Regions from separate parts of the Homo sapiens genome. Here region 2 is linked to region 1. Evidence: promoter capture Hi-C in 16 types of primary human blood cells and fetal thymus (Javierre and others, 2016). All regions are on one chromosome and are shown on one strand. Each heading gives the region's core, a stretch centred on a gene start or on the middle of the fragment in contact. The rest is flanking DNA. Distances are from core to core; before and after follow the strand shown.

The links. The method cuts DNA at HindIII sites, captures the fragments that hold promoters and counts their contacts. A CHiCAGO score of 5 or more calls a contact.
Region 2: a contact is called between a fragment that was not itself captured here and the fragment with the promoter of MRPS21 in region 1, in 1 of 17 cell types (fetal thymus). The highest score is 6.2, in fetal thymus.

What each region holds. Positions count from the first base shown.
Region 1 is chr1:150,290,857-150,298,320 of GRCh38, forward strand. MRPS21 (mitochondrial ribosomal protein S21) reads left to right here and starts at 3,005. Exons shown (of 3, transcript NM_031901.6): 1 at 3,005-3,042; 2 at 3,479-3,593. The coding sequence starts at 3,511. LOC105371434 (a long non-coding RNA gene) reads right to left here and starts at 2,964. Exons shown (of 2, transcript XR_922129.4): 1 at 2,776-2,964; 2 at 2,444-2,641. RefSeq lists enhancers at 3,293-3,352, 6,186-6,743. The HindIII fragment of the contact is 15,404 bases long and covers 1-4,955 here.
Region 2 is chr1:150,999,490-151,006,953 of GRCh38, forward strand. MINDY1 (MINDY lysine 48 deubiquitinase 1) reads right to left here and starts at 7,413. Exons shown (of 10, transcript NM_001376665.1): 1 at 6,823-7,413; 2 at 2,676-3,217; 3 at 2,236-2,293; 4 at 1,761-1,825; 5 at 968-1,126; 6 at 373-475; 7 at 1-22. The coding sequence starts at 3,128. RefSeq lists enhancers at 6,649-6,908, 7,139-7,318. The HindIII fragment of the contact is 1,608 bases long and covers 4,052-5,659 here.

The DNA of each region.
Region 1 (7,464 bases), core at 1,755-4,254:
TTTGCCCCTAAGCTCTTGTTCATGCTGTTCACCTTGCCAAACCTTTCCTGCTTCTGTTATCTAAACCCTGCCCTCTTTCAACGACTAACTCAAGTCCATCCTATCATTCTTTCTGTTAAACATGATCTATACACTCAGTGTTTGGCCGTTTACTCCATTAAATGGAATCATGTACATAAAATACCTAGTGCAGGGTTTGGGGCCTGGTGGGGTGGCTCACACTTGTAATCCTAGCACTTTGGGAGACCAGCCTGGACAACATAGTGAAACTATTAAAAATACAAAAAATTAGTCTCTACTAAAAATACAAAAAATTAGCTAGGCGTAGTGGCATGTCCCTGTAATCCCAGCTACTCGGGAGGCTGAGGTGGAAGGATCACCTGAGCTCAGGAGGTCCAGGCTACAGTGAGCTATGATGGTGCCACTGCATTCTAGCCTGGGCAACAAGAGTGAGACTCTGTTTCAGAAAAACAAAAACAAAAATAAAAAACACCCACCTAGTACAGGGTTTAGTATATAGTAGGCTCTCAAAAATGTTACTCTCCAGCTGATCCAATGGTAGTGGTTAACAGAACTTATTAACATCAGTTCCTGTCTCCCTTCCTTTCTTTCAAAGTATCTTCATATTTTTTTTCTCTTTTTTTTTTTTTTTTTTTTGGAGACAGAGTCTCGCTCTGTCACCCAGGCTGGAGTGCAGTGGCACCATCTCAGCTCACTGCAACCTCCACCTCCAGGGTTCAAGTGATTCTCTTGCCTCAGCCTCCCAAGTAGCTGAGACTACAGGCGAGCGCCGCCACGCCCAGCTGATCTTTTGTATTTTTAGTAGAGACGGGGTTTCACTGTGTTAGCCAGGATGGTCTCGATCTCCTGACCTCGTGATCCACCCGCCTCAGCCTCCCAAAGTGCTGGGATTACAGGCGTGAGCCACCGTGCCCGGCATATCTTCATATTTTATTCTATTTGATTCCCATGACAAATTTCGTGAGACTGAACAGGGCAAAATTAGTCCCATTTTAGAGATGAGGAAATAGAGTGAGTCTGGCAAGGGCCAGATAGTAAATATTTTAGGCTTTGTAGGCTTTATGTCTCTATTGCAACTACCCAATTCGGCCATCGTAGCCCAAAGCAGCCATACATAACACACAGTCAAATAAGCATGACTGTAGGTCAACAGCCTTATTTACAAAAACAGGTGGAGCAGGATTTGACCTGTAAACTGTAGTCTCCAGACCCCTGGTTTTAAATGACTTCTTCAAGGTCATAGGCCTGATGAGTATTAGAATTGGGATAGAATCCAGATCTCCCAACTTTGAAGCCAGTGCCTTTCACCACATTATGCTGTGGCATATTTTATTTATTATTTGTTTGTTTATTTATTTTTTGAAATGGAGTTTCACTCTTGTTGCCCAGGCTGGAGTGCAATGGTGCGATCTCGGCTCACTGCCACCTCCGCCTCCCAGGTTCATGTGATTCTCCTGCCTCAGCCTCCCAAGCAGCTGGGATTACAGGCATGTGGCACCACGCCTGGCTAATTTTGTATTTTTAGTAGAGACAGGGTTTCACCATGTTGGCCAGGCTGGTCTCAAACTCCTGACCTCAGGTGATCTACCCGCCTCAGCCTCCCAAAGTGCTGGGATTACAGGCGTGCGCCACCGCGCCTGGCCCTATTTATTTATTTATTCATTTTTAATTTTTTGAGACAGGGTCTCACTCTATTGCCCAGGCCAGGGTGCAGTGGTGTGATCAAAGCTCGCTGCAGCCTTGACCTTCCAGGCTCAGGTGATCCTCCCCCTCAGCCTCCCAAGTAGCTAGGACAACAGGCCATGCCACTACACCCGGCTAATTTCTATATTTTTTGTAAAGACGGAGTTTTGCTTTGTTGCCCAGGCTGGTCTCGAACTTCTGGGCTCAAGTGATCCGCCTGCCTTGGCCTCCCAAAGTGCTGGGATTACAGGTGTGAGCCACCGCGTCCAGCCCATATAATTTATTTTGCATTTATTATATACTACTTTGTTTTAGTATCTTTTATGTGGTCCTAGTGGTCCAGGAGGCACTAGAGTGGTATCAACAGTATCTGACACAGAGTAGTCATTCAGTGAAAGTTTGTTGACAAGCATAATAATGTCCCAATCTAGTTCTATTTCGTTACTTTGGACCTGGCTTACTCTGAGGTGGGCTTAAGTGTTAGTGTAAGTTATTAGCATCAACTGATGATGCACACGTCTGTGTCTGTGTCTGTGTGTGTGTGTGTGTGCGTGAGCGTGCGCGCGCACTCTCTCTCTAAGGGAGGTACGTTTTCCTACAGCCATTAGATGTTAACTTACGTGAATAACCATAAATGGATATGTACAGGTAGCATACAAATAGGAGGACGGGTGTCTCCACAGCGAAGAAGAAATTTAAAAGGAGGTTTTTCAGTAGGTCTCATTAGCACGAAAAGGCATAGAAGCTGACATAATTTTTTATTCTAAACCCTGCAGGTGTTTCCCATATATCTTTATTGATTTCACTTTATGTAGTTAAATTAGTGGGAAGATGATATAGGAAACTCACAGTATGTTTATTTCTTTTCCTTAGCACTTAGGCAGATGACGTGTATGAATCAATCTATTTTTCGTCCGGAGAGCAGATCTCAAAGAGTCTGTCCTTTCCAAAGAGAAAACAGGAAGCATCCTCAGGAAGCGCCTACTTCTCTTGTTTTCCATCGAGAAAGAGAAATGGCTCAAATATTTATCAAGGATTTCACAGGATTAAGGGGTATGAAATTGGGCTGACCTTCTCAGAGGCCGAAGGACTTCGACTCCATGAGAGGGCGAGAAACGTGTTTCGGGGGAATTTAAGTCAATGAGTATTTTGCTTTGTCAGGTGTAGAGTCCAGGCCCGGGGAAGAGAGGCAGTCAACAGAGGCCAGAAAGGACGTTGCTATGGTTTCCACGCACGTTGTCTCCCTCGGCCTGTTTCTTTGCGCGGCGCTGGCGATTCCGTAATTTCCGCTTCCGGTAGTGAGAACCCTTCCGGTGGGCTAGGTACTGAGCGCGCGAGGTGAGGAGTTGTGCAGGGTTTGGGGAAAGGAAGGCTGGCTTGGCGAGAGGGCAGGTTTGCGGGCTTTCGCCCCCTTTTCCAAAGACCAACAAAGAGTCCTTCCCCAACTCCCAACTCAACCCCTTTTGGAACTATGTGTGGTGGTTGGGACCCTGTGGCGCATCCTTGTCGCTCGTGTCCTTCTCATGCCCGGCGACGCGTCTTTGTGGTAACGCCCTGCTGCCATCTCTTTTCTTCTCTATGCGAGGATTTGGACTGGCAGTGAGAATAAGAGACAACGATTCACGTCTACTTTCTAGGATGACTTCCATGTGCTCCATCTCGCGCGTCCCTGAGCATGTTGAATTTCCAAATCCTAAATAAGCCGCGCGGTGTAGTTTGTATTATGTTGCGTTTCTCTTTCTGCTTTCCTCGCCCTTTCTCCATCATCCTTTAGGCTCTACAGAGTGAAGGTTTAAATCCAAGGTCATGGCAAAACATCTGAAGTTCATCGCCAGGACTGTGATGGTACAGGAAGGGAACGTGGAAAGCGCATACAGGACCCTAAACAGGTAACTGTTAAGGGACCAGAATCATGCCTAGACTCTCTGGGAAGTGCGGTGGTTATTCTCTCCCTTCCCCTTTCGTTGATTGTTCTCAAAACAGTGCCAGCCCAGGTGTTCACAGTCTCTTAAAACGTCTCAGCCCCTCAGTTTATTATCTTAAAAATGAAGTTCTGGGCCGGGCGCGGTGGCTCACGCCTGTAATCCCAGCACTTTGGGAGGCCGAGGCGGGTGGATCACATGCGGTCAGGAGTTTCAGACCAGCCTGGCCAACATGGTGAAACCGTGTCTCTACTAAAAATACAAAAATTAGCCGGGCGTGGTGGCAAACGCCTGTAATCTCAGCTACTCGAGAGCTGAGGCAGGAGAATCGCTTGAACCCGGGAGGCAGAGGTTGTAGTGAGCCAAGATCGAGCCACTTGCACTCCAGCCTGGGCAAGAGTGAGACTCTATCTCAAAAAAAAAGAAAAAAAGTTCTTCCTCAAACCTAACTGTATGAATTGTATTCAACAAGTAATCACCCCCCGCACCTCCCCGCTTTTAATTTTAATTTTAATTTTTTTTTTTTTTTTTGAGGCAGAGTCTCGCTCTGTCACCCAGGCTGGAGTGCAGCGGCACGATCTCGGCTCACTGCAAGCTCCGCTTCCTGGGTTCACGCCATTCTCCTGCCTCAGCCTCCTGAGCAGCCAGTACTACAGGCTCCCGCCACCACGCCCGGTTAATTTTTGTATTTATAGTAGAGATGGGGTTTCACCGTGTTGGCCAGGATGGTCTTGATCTCCTGACCTCAAGTGATCTGCCTGCCTCTGCCTCCCAAAGTGCTAGGATTACAGGCGTAAGCCACAGCGCCCGGCCCCGCTTTTTAAAAATTGAGACAGGGTCTTGCTGTGTCACTCAACAATCCTCCTGCCTCAGTCTCCTGACTAGCTGGGTCTAGTGACGCACGCCACCACCGCAGTTAATTTTTGTATTTTCTGTACAGAGGGAGTCTCGCCATGTTGCCCAAGCGTAATGACTCCTTTTATGAGGAACCTGAATTCTTTAGAAGACTTAAAAAAGAGCCCAAATGGAAAATCAAGATGTGAAGTTGCTAGGAAGCGGGAACGTAGTATGATAAATAGAAAGCTGAGGGAGTGATTGGTGTGGGACAAAGCTAAAGGAAAAGGTGAATTCAGATTGGCATCCTAGAGAAGCAGGCAAAAGATGGGAAAGCTCACTGGGTGGGATGACTCACACCTGTAATCCTAGCACTTTGGGAAGCCTAGTGGGGAGGATTGCTTGTTGCCAAGAGTTCAAGACCAATCTGGTAAACATAGCAAGACCCCATTTCTAAAAATATTAAGAAGAAAGGGAAAAAAAGAAAGATGGGAAAGCTTACAAGTTTTCAGGAAAGATACAGCATAAGGAAAAATACATAAATGGAAACAAACTAGCTGGGGTGGAGGAGCTTTATAGCTTCATTGAAAATTTTTGAATGCCAGGCTAAGAGATGTAGAAGAGCCCTAGTAATACTTTTTTTTTTTTTTTTTTAAAACGGAGTCTTGCTCTGTTGCCAGGCTGGAGCGCAGTGGTGCAGTCTCGGCTCACTGCAGCCTCCGCCTCCTGGGTTCAATTGACTCTTCTGCCTCAGTCTCCTGAGTAGCTGGGACTACAGGTGCCCACCACCACGCCTGGCTGATTTTTGTATTTTTAGTAGAGAGGGTTTCACCACGTTAGCCAAGATGGTCTCAATCTCTTGACCTCGTGATCCACCCGCCTTGGCCTCCCAAAGTGCTGGGATTACAGGCATGAGCCACTGCATCCGGCCCAGCCCTAGTAGTACTTTACCACTGAATTCTCAAGCAAAAAGTTCTTAACCTTCCCTTCTCACCAGTTGTGTGGATTTTGACTTTCTGGTATGACTCACGCGTCATTTTCTTTCCCCAATGTGAAGTAACATTTGGAGAAACAAACGCTTGTTGAGTTGAATTATCAAAGAATTGTAAGGAAGGGGCTCCTGTAGTGCTAGCTGCTCCAGAGGCTGAGGCAAGAGGATTGCTTGAACCCAGGAGTTCAAGACTGTAGTGTGAGTGCACTCTTGTTGTGCCTGTGAATAACCACTCCACTCTAACCTAGGAAGCATAGTGAGACCATGTCTCTTAAAAAAAATGTAGGAAAGATATTGCATGGGCTGCATTAAGGCCTTTAATGTGGTAGCTTTATTTCACAAGTAAGGGAAGCCTTGGAAGATCAGATTATCTTTATTGGGTTATGCAGTTATTGAATGGTGGAGAGGAGCCTAAAGCACATCTTTTTAGTGCAATGTTCTTTAATAATTATTACTAGTCTTACTAGAAATGGAAAGACTTATGGTGGTTCATTTTCCAATTTAGAATCCTTGTCTTGTCATTTCAGCAGGTGTCGCTTTAAAAAAAAAACCAGAATCCTCATCTGATTGGGTTTAAATATTGGTAGGGTTCTTGAGGACTGAGAGGGCAAAGGAAAGGGAACCTAGTTCTTAGCAAAGCAGAGAGTTCTAGGTGTGGAAGGCTGGATGGCAGAAGACCACAGTGAGGAAAAAAATGCTGTCAGCCGGGCGCGGTGGCTCACGCCTGTAATCCCAGCACTTTGGGAGGCCAAGGCGGGCGGATCACGAGGTCAGGACATCGAGACCATCCTGGCTAACACGGTGAAACCCCGTCTCTACTAAAAATACAAAAGATTAGCCGGGCGTGGTGGCACACACCTGTAGTCCCAGCTACTGAGGAGGCTGAGACAGGAGAATCGCTTGAACCCGGGAGGAGGAGGTTGCAGTGAGCCGAGAGCGTGCCACTACACTCCAGCCTGGGCAACAGAGCGAGACTCTGTCTACAAAAAAAAAAAGAAAAAATGCTGTCAGAAGCTGTGTAAATGAGAAGCAGTTGCAGGCTCAGAATGGTTTCTATGTCTTTTAAAAGGATCTGGTCTTAGGGTCAGGCGTGGTGGCTCATGCCTGTAATCCCAGCACTTTGGGAGGTTCAGGCGGGTGGATCACCTGAGGTCAGGAGTTCAATACCAGCCTGGCCAACATAGCGAAACCCTGTCTCTACTAAAAATACAAAATTAGCCATATGTGGTGGCAGGCGCCTGTAATCTCAGCTACTTGGGAGGCTGAGGCAGGAGAATCACTTGAACCTGGGAAATAGAGGCTGCAGTGAGCCAGAATCGTGCCACTGCATTCCAGTCTGGGCCACAGAGTAAGACTCAAAAAAAAAAATCTGGTCTGGGGTCAGCCACATCACTTAATTCTATGTGCATAACAATTATATCCTTGGGCTGAAGCTGTTCCCTCTACATTGTCACCTATGCTGAGAGTAAAGATAAGTACCAGGTTGTAAGGTATCCTGTTTCATTTTTCTCTGTTTCTCCTCATTTCTAACTCTCCTATTTCATACCTTCTGGTGGCATGTCTGAGAAGTATATTATGTCTAATGACCTTTCTCTGGCCCTACTTTGCTATCTTGGAAGTACAAAATGAACTTTTTTTTTTTTGAGACAGAGTTTCACTCTTATTGCCCAAGCTGGAGTGCAATGGTGCCATCTCGGCTCACCGCAACCTCTGCCGCCCATGTTCAAGCGTTTCTCCTGCCTCAGCCTCCTGAGTAGCTGGGATTACAGGCATGCGCCACCAAGCCCAGCTAATTTTGTATTTTTACTAGAGATGGGGTTTCTCCAGGTTAGTCAGGCTGGTCTCTAACTCCCAACCTCACATGATCCACCCGCCTTGGCCTCCCAAAGTGCTGGGATTACAGGCTTGAGCCACTGCACCTGGCCTAAAATGAACGTCTTTATAGGTAACATCCAGACCCTGCAGTGAGTTAGCTAGGGAGATGAATGTTGAATTTGGGAAAAGGCATGTATT
Region 2 (7,464 bases), core at 3,606-6,105, 710 kb after region 1:
AGGAACTGCTCTGCAATCAGGCCTGCCAGAAAGGGACGAGTCGGGGGAAACTTGGCTTAAATTCAAGGTCCACAACAGGAAGGACCATCCAGAGAGCCCCTGTCAAAAGCCCCGGGGGGTCAGTCCCACCTTCTGACGTCCCTTTCTTGAAACCTGGCTGTATTCATTCACTTAACAAATACTTATAATAGAGCAGCTACCTTGTGCCAGGCACTGGGGATACCTCAATGAACTAAACAGAAATTCCCCAAGCTCCTTCTTGTGAAGCTTATATCTAGTGGGATGTGGTAGGAGATGACACCCAATAAAAAATAAGCCTAAGTAGCTGTCATTCCCTCCACATACTATCCATGAGAAGGGGAGGAATGTCACCTTCTGTCACGAGGTTGGTGTCACTGGAGTGTTTGCAGGTGATGATCCTCTCCACCAGCTGGTTGTAACTCAGTTTCCCAACTGCACGCACAGCCTCAGGACTCTGCTTGGGTAGTGGGATGTGGGATACCAAAAAAATTGGGATTTTTTTTTCTTTTTTAAGGAAGGAAATGAACAAAGCTCACAAGGACTACAACCCTGTGATGAATGGTTCCTAAACACTTTTTTTTTTTGGTCTCTCAAAAAAGAAAAAAATTTCAGGAACCATTCATCATAGGGTTGCTATGTTGCCCAGACTGGCCTCGAACTCCTCCCAAGTAGCTGGGAATACAGGCATGTGCCACCAAACCCATCTGCTTCCTGAATTTTTGATGTCTAAAGAACTGACCTATTTGCATGTAGTTTGCTTGTATTTGCATGTTACCCCCAAAATAGATTAAAATTCAAGGAATTCTGTACTGGGTCCAGTCTCTAAACACTATTTCCCTCCCAAGCCAATCTAACCCCTAACTCCCTAACCTCTACCCGACAAAAATTTGCCTCTCTCATGTCAGCTTGAGCTGGATAAGGTCCCAGTGGGCCCTCCCACCCTCACCTGTGGATCAACAAGCCAGCCATGGTACAGAGGTATGCCTAGCAGGTCAAAGACACTGCACTCGGGTGTATACTCAAAATCAGAGACGCCTGTGAATCGCACATTGACATCCAGACCTGTGGCCAGTTTAGGCAGCACTGTCATTGCATCATCCACATTCTGGGGGTAGAAAAAAAAATGATGGAGATTCTAGCCTTCTCTCCCACCACTCCACTCCCACCTGCAGAAATTAAAAATTAACCTTGCTGCTCTTCTTCCCTGATTCTCTTACAAGCCACTCCATTTCTCCCTTGCCTCAACCCTTCTCTATCTTATATAAATGAACATTGTTTTTCTTTGAGAGTCTAAGTCTAATTCTTTCATCCAGGCTGGAGTGCAGTGGTGTGATCCTAGCTCACTGCAGCCTCAAACTCTTGGTTTCAAGTGACCCTCCCACCTCAGCCTCCTGAGTAGCTGGGACTACAGGCACGCACCGCCATACCTGGCTAATTCTTGAAAAAAAAAATGGTTTTTTTTAGAGACAGGGGTATTATTATGTTGCCCAGGCTGGCCTCGAACTCCTGGCCTCAAGTGATCCTCCCGCTTTGGCATCTCAAAGTGCTGGGATTACAGGTGTGAGCACCCGGCCAATGAACATATTTTCTAGGACAAAGATAAACTCTCCTCTGACTCCTGCAGAATGAAATCATGGTTCAAGGAAACCTCTGAAGAAGCAACAAAAGCTTATCTTAGTATTACAAGATGTCCCCTTACAAACCTGCAAACCCCTATGCCTGCAGACCTTTTGCCTCACCTGCTGAAAATTAAGCTGAAGTCCCTCTGACTTCTCCTGGGGCTTGATGGACAGGAGGCAGTTTCCTACAAGACAGGGCCCCTTATCAGCTTACCCCACCAATCATCCCAAAAGCTAAGTTTCCTCTTCTCCTGGAGAATGCGGGTAATGTCACAGAACACAGATTTTCAGAGCTGGAAAATACTTAGAGTCTAATCCAGACTCTTCATTTCTCAGAGGAGGCGACAGCCTCATAAAGGTGAACGGCCCACCCAGGGTCAGATACAAAAGCTAAGGGCAGAATTGGTGTTACAACCCAGGACTCCCGACGCCTTTGCTTTTCATTCTCCAGCCTTGCAGAGAAGCCCCATAGACCCTTACCCTCCCTGCTGTATCAGAACCCCCAAATGGAGATCCCTGAATAGTCTGGATTTCTGGCTGAGTGGATAGCTCTGGAGCCCCTTGGGTAATTCCTCTTCAACGCCCAGTCACTCACCAAGATGGGCCATGAGCTCATCCGATGTGATCACTTCCTTCTGCGGGGGGAGCTTCACCTGGAGGCAGAAGGGGTGATCACGTGTGTGCTTTCCTCCAAAGAGCACTGAAGGAAGAACCCATGGAAAGGCAAGGGGGAGCTCCAGTAGTAGGGTGGGGTAGGAAAAAAGGCTTGCAACTGGCACAAGGGAATGAATGTGAAATCTTGCAAGGCATGTGCATTTGCTAGGGAGTAGGAGATACAGGGGTAGGACAGATCTTCCTCTTTTTTTTTTTTCTTTGTTTTTAGGAACATCTTATCTCATTTGCTCAAGCTGGAGAAATAGGGAGAACAATCTGAAAAGTTTTGACTAGTTTGAGGACATCAGGATGATCAAGGAAGTAAGTCAGGGAAGAGTACTCCCTGATATTTTTTGCACCCCTAACTGCATGTTCTCTTACCTTCCACTGAAGAAAGAGGATGTTCATGATGGCAAGGAGAGGGCAAGGGCCGTTAGTGCTCTGGGTGATGATGGGTGTCTGTTCTCCTTTCCAAGGGATCCACTTGACACAGTAGAAATCTGGCTCAGGCTGTCGGGTCCTGGGGGACTGAGGAAGCTCCTGGGGCATGGAGCATGCCCTTATTGTCTCTACTTCAGGCAGTGTCCCAAGGGTTGGCCCCGGTGGAGCTGAGCTAGCTTCAGGCAGAGGGGACTCAAGGTTGTCCCCACACTGGCTAGGCAGCAAAGCTTGGTCTGCTGGCTCCCGTTCTCTAGCCTCCCCATCAGCATCTCTTGCATCTGTGTCCTGAGGGTGCTCATCTGGGCCTGCCAGAACCTCATGGTTTTCAGGGATGACTGCTTCTGCAGTCCCGGCCTTACCAGGGGCTGGATCCTCAGGCTGATGGTATTCCATGGTCAAAAGGGACTTGGCTGAGGGGCACTGAAGGTGTTTACTAACCTCAGGGACTTGCCTAAGCCAGGCTTGGGATGCAAAAGAGTGACCTGTCCAATAAGAAGGAAATCAGTGGGCTGGAAAGCAAACTAACCCAGAAAAGTCTTGGAAAAGGAATGTAGTGTAGAAGGCTGGCTAGTGTTTGTGCAGTAACTCCTGGCTATGGGCAGTATATGTGTAAACAGAAGGGCCCCGTGCTGAGCTCTTTCCACCTCTAACTTGCTGTGACCAGATGAGACCAAGAGGTCGTGGGGCTTCCAGACTTGGGAGGGAAGACTGGTGGGATTGAACACATGGGTGGAGTCAGCTTCCCTGAAACAGATCATGACAGGGAAGGGAGGAAAGACAGAGAGAAAGGGAGAGCACAAAGGAGAAAGAAGGATAAGAGGTGGAGAAAGAAATGTTAAATCTACGCTAATGGTTATTAATATGATGATCTTTAGCTTACTCTAATAGGCATCACATCAGTAACCCCCTCATAGCCATGACAGAGATAATTCCTCTGCCCTACCCCACACCCTGCCCCTTCACACAACATACTAAGAATACACAGTGCTTGTATGTTTAGGGATACCTTCTCTCTGCCTCACCCAAGGATAAAAAGATTAAGTCACATAGTACTTGGGGTGAAGAATGGAGGAGGCACAGAGAGTCAGTTTCATGCCCCTAAAGGTGAAATGCTGGTGAGGAAGGGGAAGTCTTCCACCTCAAAGGGCTCTACTGAACCTTACACAATCCCAAACCACAGTATAAAGGCCTTGGGAGGGGTTTCCTGTAAGCTGGGAGGGGAAATGTAGGTGGTGGGGGCTGGAATCAGAGACTGGTTTTGATAAATAACTTCAGATTAGGGGCACAAAAAGCACTCCCCACAAGTTCTTCCAGTAAGCTTCTCTTTAAAAAAAATTAATAAAGATATCAAATTTCTTTTAATTAAACTGAGACAGGGTCTTGCTTTGTTGCCTAGGCTGGTCTTAACTCCTGGGGGCCCAAGCAATCCGCCCTCCTCAGCCTGCCAAAGGACTGGGATTACAGGCATGAGCCACGGTGCCTGGACCCAGTAAGCATCTCTTGACAGCTAGCATTGAGACAGCAACTTTTCCTCAGTTCATTTTTTTTCCCCAGAAACTACCTAAACCCAGAGGTACTCTCTTGCCTGCTATTTCTATGAAATATGAAAATGCTGATTATTAATTTACATAACAATACTTCCTGTACATTCACCTACCTAAAGTTTTATGTCTATTCCCATCCAAGTGGTTTTATTTATTTATTTTTATTTTTTTGAGACAGAGTTTTGCTCTTGTTGCCTAGGTTGGAGTGCAATGGTGCGACCTCGGCTCACTGCAACCTCTGCCTCCTGGGTTCAAGTGATTCTCCTGCCTCAGCCTCCCGAGTAGCTGGGATTACAGGCATGCAACACCATGCCCAGCTAATTTTGTATTTTTTAGTAGAGATGGAGTTTCTCCATGTTGGTCAGGCTGGTCTTGAACTTCCGACCTCAGGTGATCCTCCCACCTTGGCCTCCCAAAGTGCTGGGATTACAGGCATGAGCCACCGTGCCCAGTCCTCTCCAGGTCATTTTAGATGTGAACACCGGACCTGTTTAACCTGTTCTCTATCAGCACTGGAGGCACATTGAGGCAAGCACAGATAGACATTTAACTAATACTGTGGGTATAAATAATAAAAAACCACAAATCCTGCCCTTTGGAAAACATCTCCCTTCAATCTCCTTGCTCCCCTCCCACTCTTTATCAGGGAGAGAAACAGGGAGAAATTAAACTAGTTAGGGGCCAGGCGCGGTGGCTCACGCCTGTAATCCCAGCACTTTGAGAGGCTGAGGCGGGCAGATTACTTGAGGTCAGGAGATCGAGACCATCCTGGCTAACATGGCAAAACGCTGTCTGTATTGAAAGTACAAAAATTAGCCAGGTGTGTTGGCACGTGCCTGTAGTCACAGCTGCTCGGGAGGCTGAGGTGGGAGAATTGCTTGAACCTGGGAGGCAGGGGGTTGCAGTGAGCTGAGATGGTGACACTGCACTACAGCCTGGGTGACAGAGCGAAACTCCATCTCAAAAATAAAATAAAATAAAATAAAATAAAATAAAATAAAATAAAATAAAATAAAATAAATTAAACTAGTTAGAAATCTTGTCTTTTCTCCACCCTCCTCCCAGCCTGAGACTGCTTCCTTCTTGTAAACCTACAGGAATTTGGGGCTAGGGGAAGGCCTGGGAGATGAGGTTGAGGAACATTAAAGTTACTGAAACAAAATAAGCCTAGTCACTCAAATTGATTATCCTCTTGATTCACATATGTTTATGCTAGCTGCATATCATTTACGTGTTGTTAATTTAGAATCAGAGTAGCAAAAATTGCCTGCAGGCCTTATGCTTTTTTTTCTCTCTCTTTCTCTCTCTCCTTTCCTTCTCCCCTTAAATGACACTTAGGGTGAACCTCAAAGCAGATGCCAGAGCCTGGAAAAGTGAAAAAGCTTGAAGAAAAGCAGGCCTTGGCCGGGCACAGTGCCTCACACCTGTATCCCAGCACTTTGAGAGGCCGAGGCGGGCGGATCACCTGAGGTCAGGAGCTCAAGATCGGCCTGGCTAACATGGCGAAACCCCATCTCTACTAAAAATACAAAAATTAGCCGGGCACGGTGGCGGGCACCTGTAATCCCAGCTACTCAGGAGGCTGAGGCAGGAGAATTGCTTGAACCCCGGAGGTGGAGGTTGCAGTAAGCCAAGATTGTGCCTCTGCACTCCAGCCTGGGTGACAAGAGTGAGACTCTTGCCTCCAAAAAAAAAAAGAAAAAAAGAAAAAAAAAAAAGAAAAGCAGGCCTTATTTTTTATATTTTCTCTCCAGTGCCAGAAATGATCAATGATGAAGTGGGGGTTGGGCAGCTAGCTGGCTGGAGAGGTGAGCCAAAGGAACCCAGGAGTGGACACCTGAGGGAGTGGGGTCTCAGAGGAACTGGGCAGAGCTAAATGGGCTAAGTCTTAAGAGGCAGGGGCAGGAAATGTAATGGAGGCTTTCTACTCTACAACGTCCAATCCTGCTGGGGAGGGCATGGAGTATTTCAGAGTAGGAAAGAATGAGGGAGAGGATAGTCAGATAAATCAAAGTTTCATTCTTTTCCTCCTCTTTCTTAGCTCGTCAAATCCTACACTTTCTCTCCAGCTGGAATTATGGTGGTGAGTGAGGGAGTTAAAATAATCCTGGCTCCTCCCTAATCAATGGCAGTAGAGAGCCGAAAGTTGGAAGAAGCACGTAAAACAGGTATGTAGCTTCAAGAAGACACTCCTTCTCTGTAGGAACAGTTCCCTTACTGTCTCACACCAATCTCCTTCTTAGTCTGACCTATGTCTTTGTGCAATCAATAGTTTAGATTTTCATCTCAGAATATGTCAACCATGGCCACAGTGCCCTGTATACTTGCTCACAAGGAGAGGGGGAAGGTTTCGTGCTTTCATTAAAAGGAGGAGGACCAAGCAGCATCCCCTTTACATGTCTCTCCTGACTTAGCTCCTCTAAGCAATCCAGACTTGCAGACCAAAGGTGGAAGGACAGCAGGTGTCAGCTCCCCAAAGCTGGAGAGGAAATAGAGAAGGGTGGGAGAAGAGGTGAAGAAGATGATTAAAATAAAGTTTTTACCTTAAAGAAGGGGGTGCTGTTCCAAGATTGAGAAGGAGGGTTCAGCCGTGGCAATGAGATGGGGGAGATAGGTGCAATGAAGGGGGCTGCCAGTGCCAGCTGCCTTCCAGCTGTCAACGCCTGAGCTTATACAGGTTTACACAGCTTTATAAGCGACGGTCCAGGCTGGGTTGTGGCCACTTCCGGACTCACGCCCAGTACTGGGGGCACTGGAGGAGGGTGAAGGCAGGCAGGGACACAGCCAAGGTGCTCCAGGTCGCTCAGAGAGTCTTCAGGATTCCTGAGTCGCCGAGTCTATGGCATGCGCTCCGGGCCCTGACTACAAGCTGGTTTTCAAAGGAAGTTTGTGGTTTTTCTTTTCTTCTCTCTCTCTTTTTTGTTCTCATCAGGACGAAGAAAAATTAGGCAAGGACAAGCTCCCTGGAGGAGGAGGGGCCTGCCCAGCGCTGGTGGATTTCCATCAGGACTTTCTGACCCGGTCAGCAGCTTTGTGATCAGCAGAGAGGGAGCGAGAAACAGGAGAGAAAAACAACAGACCCTTTCTCTTCCCTCTGCCTGCCTCTAGAAGGGACGGAGCGCTTGTGCCTCTCTGGTGAGAATAGGGAAGAGCAAGTGCCCTTGCTAAGTAGGGAGGAGAAGGGC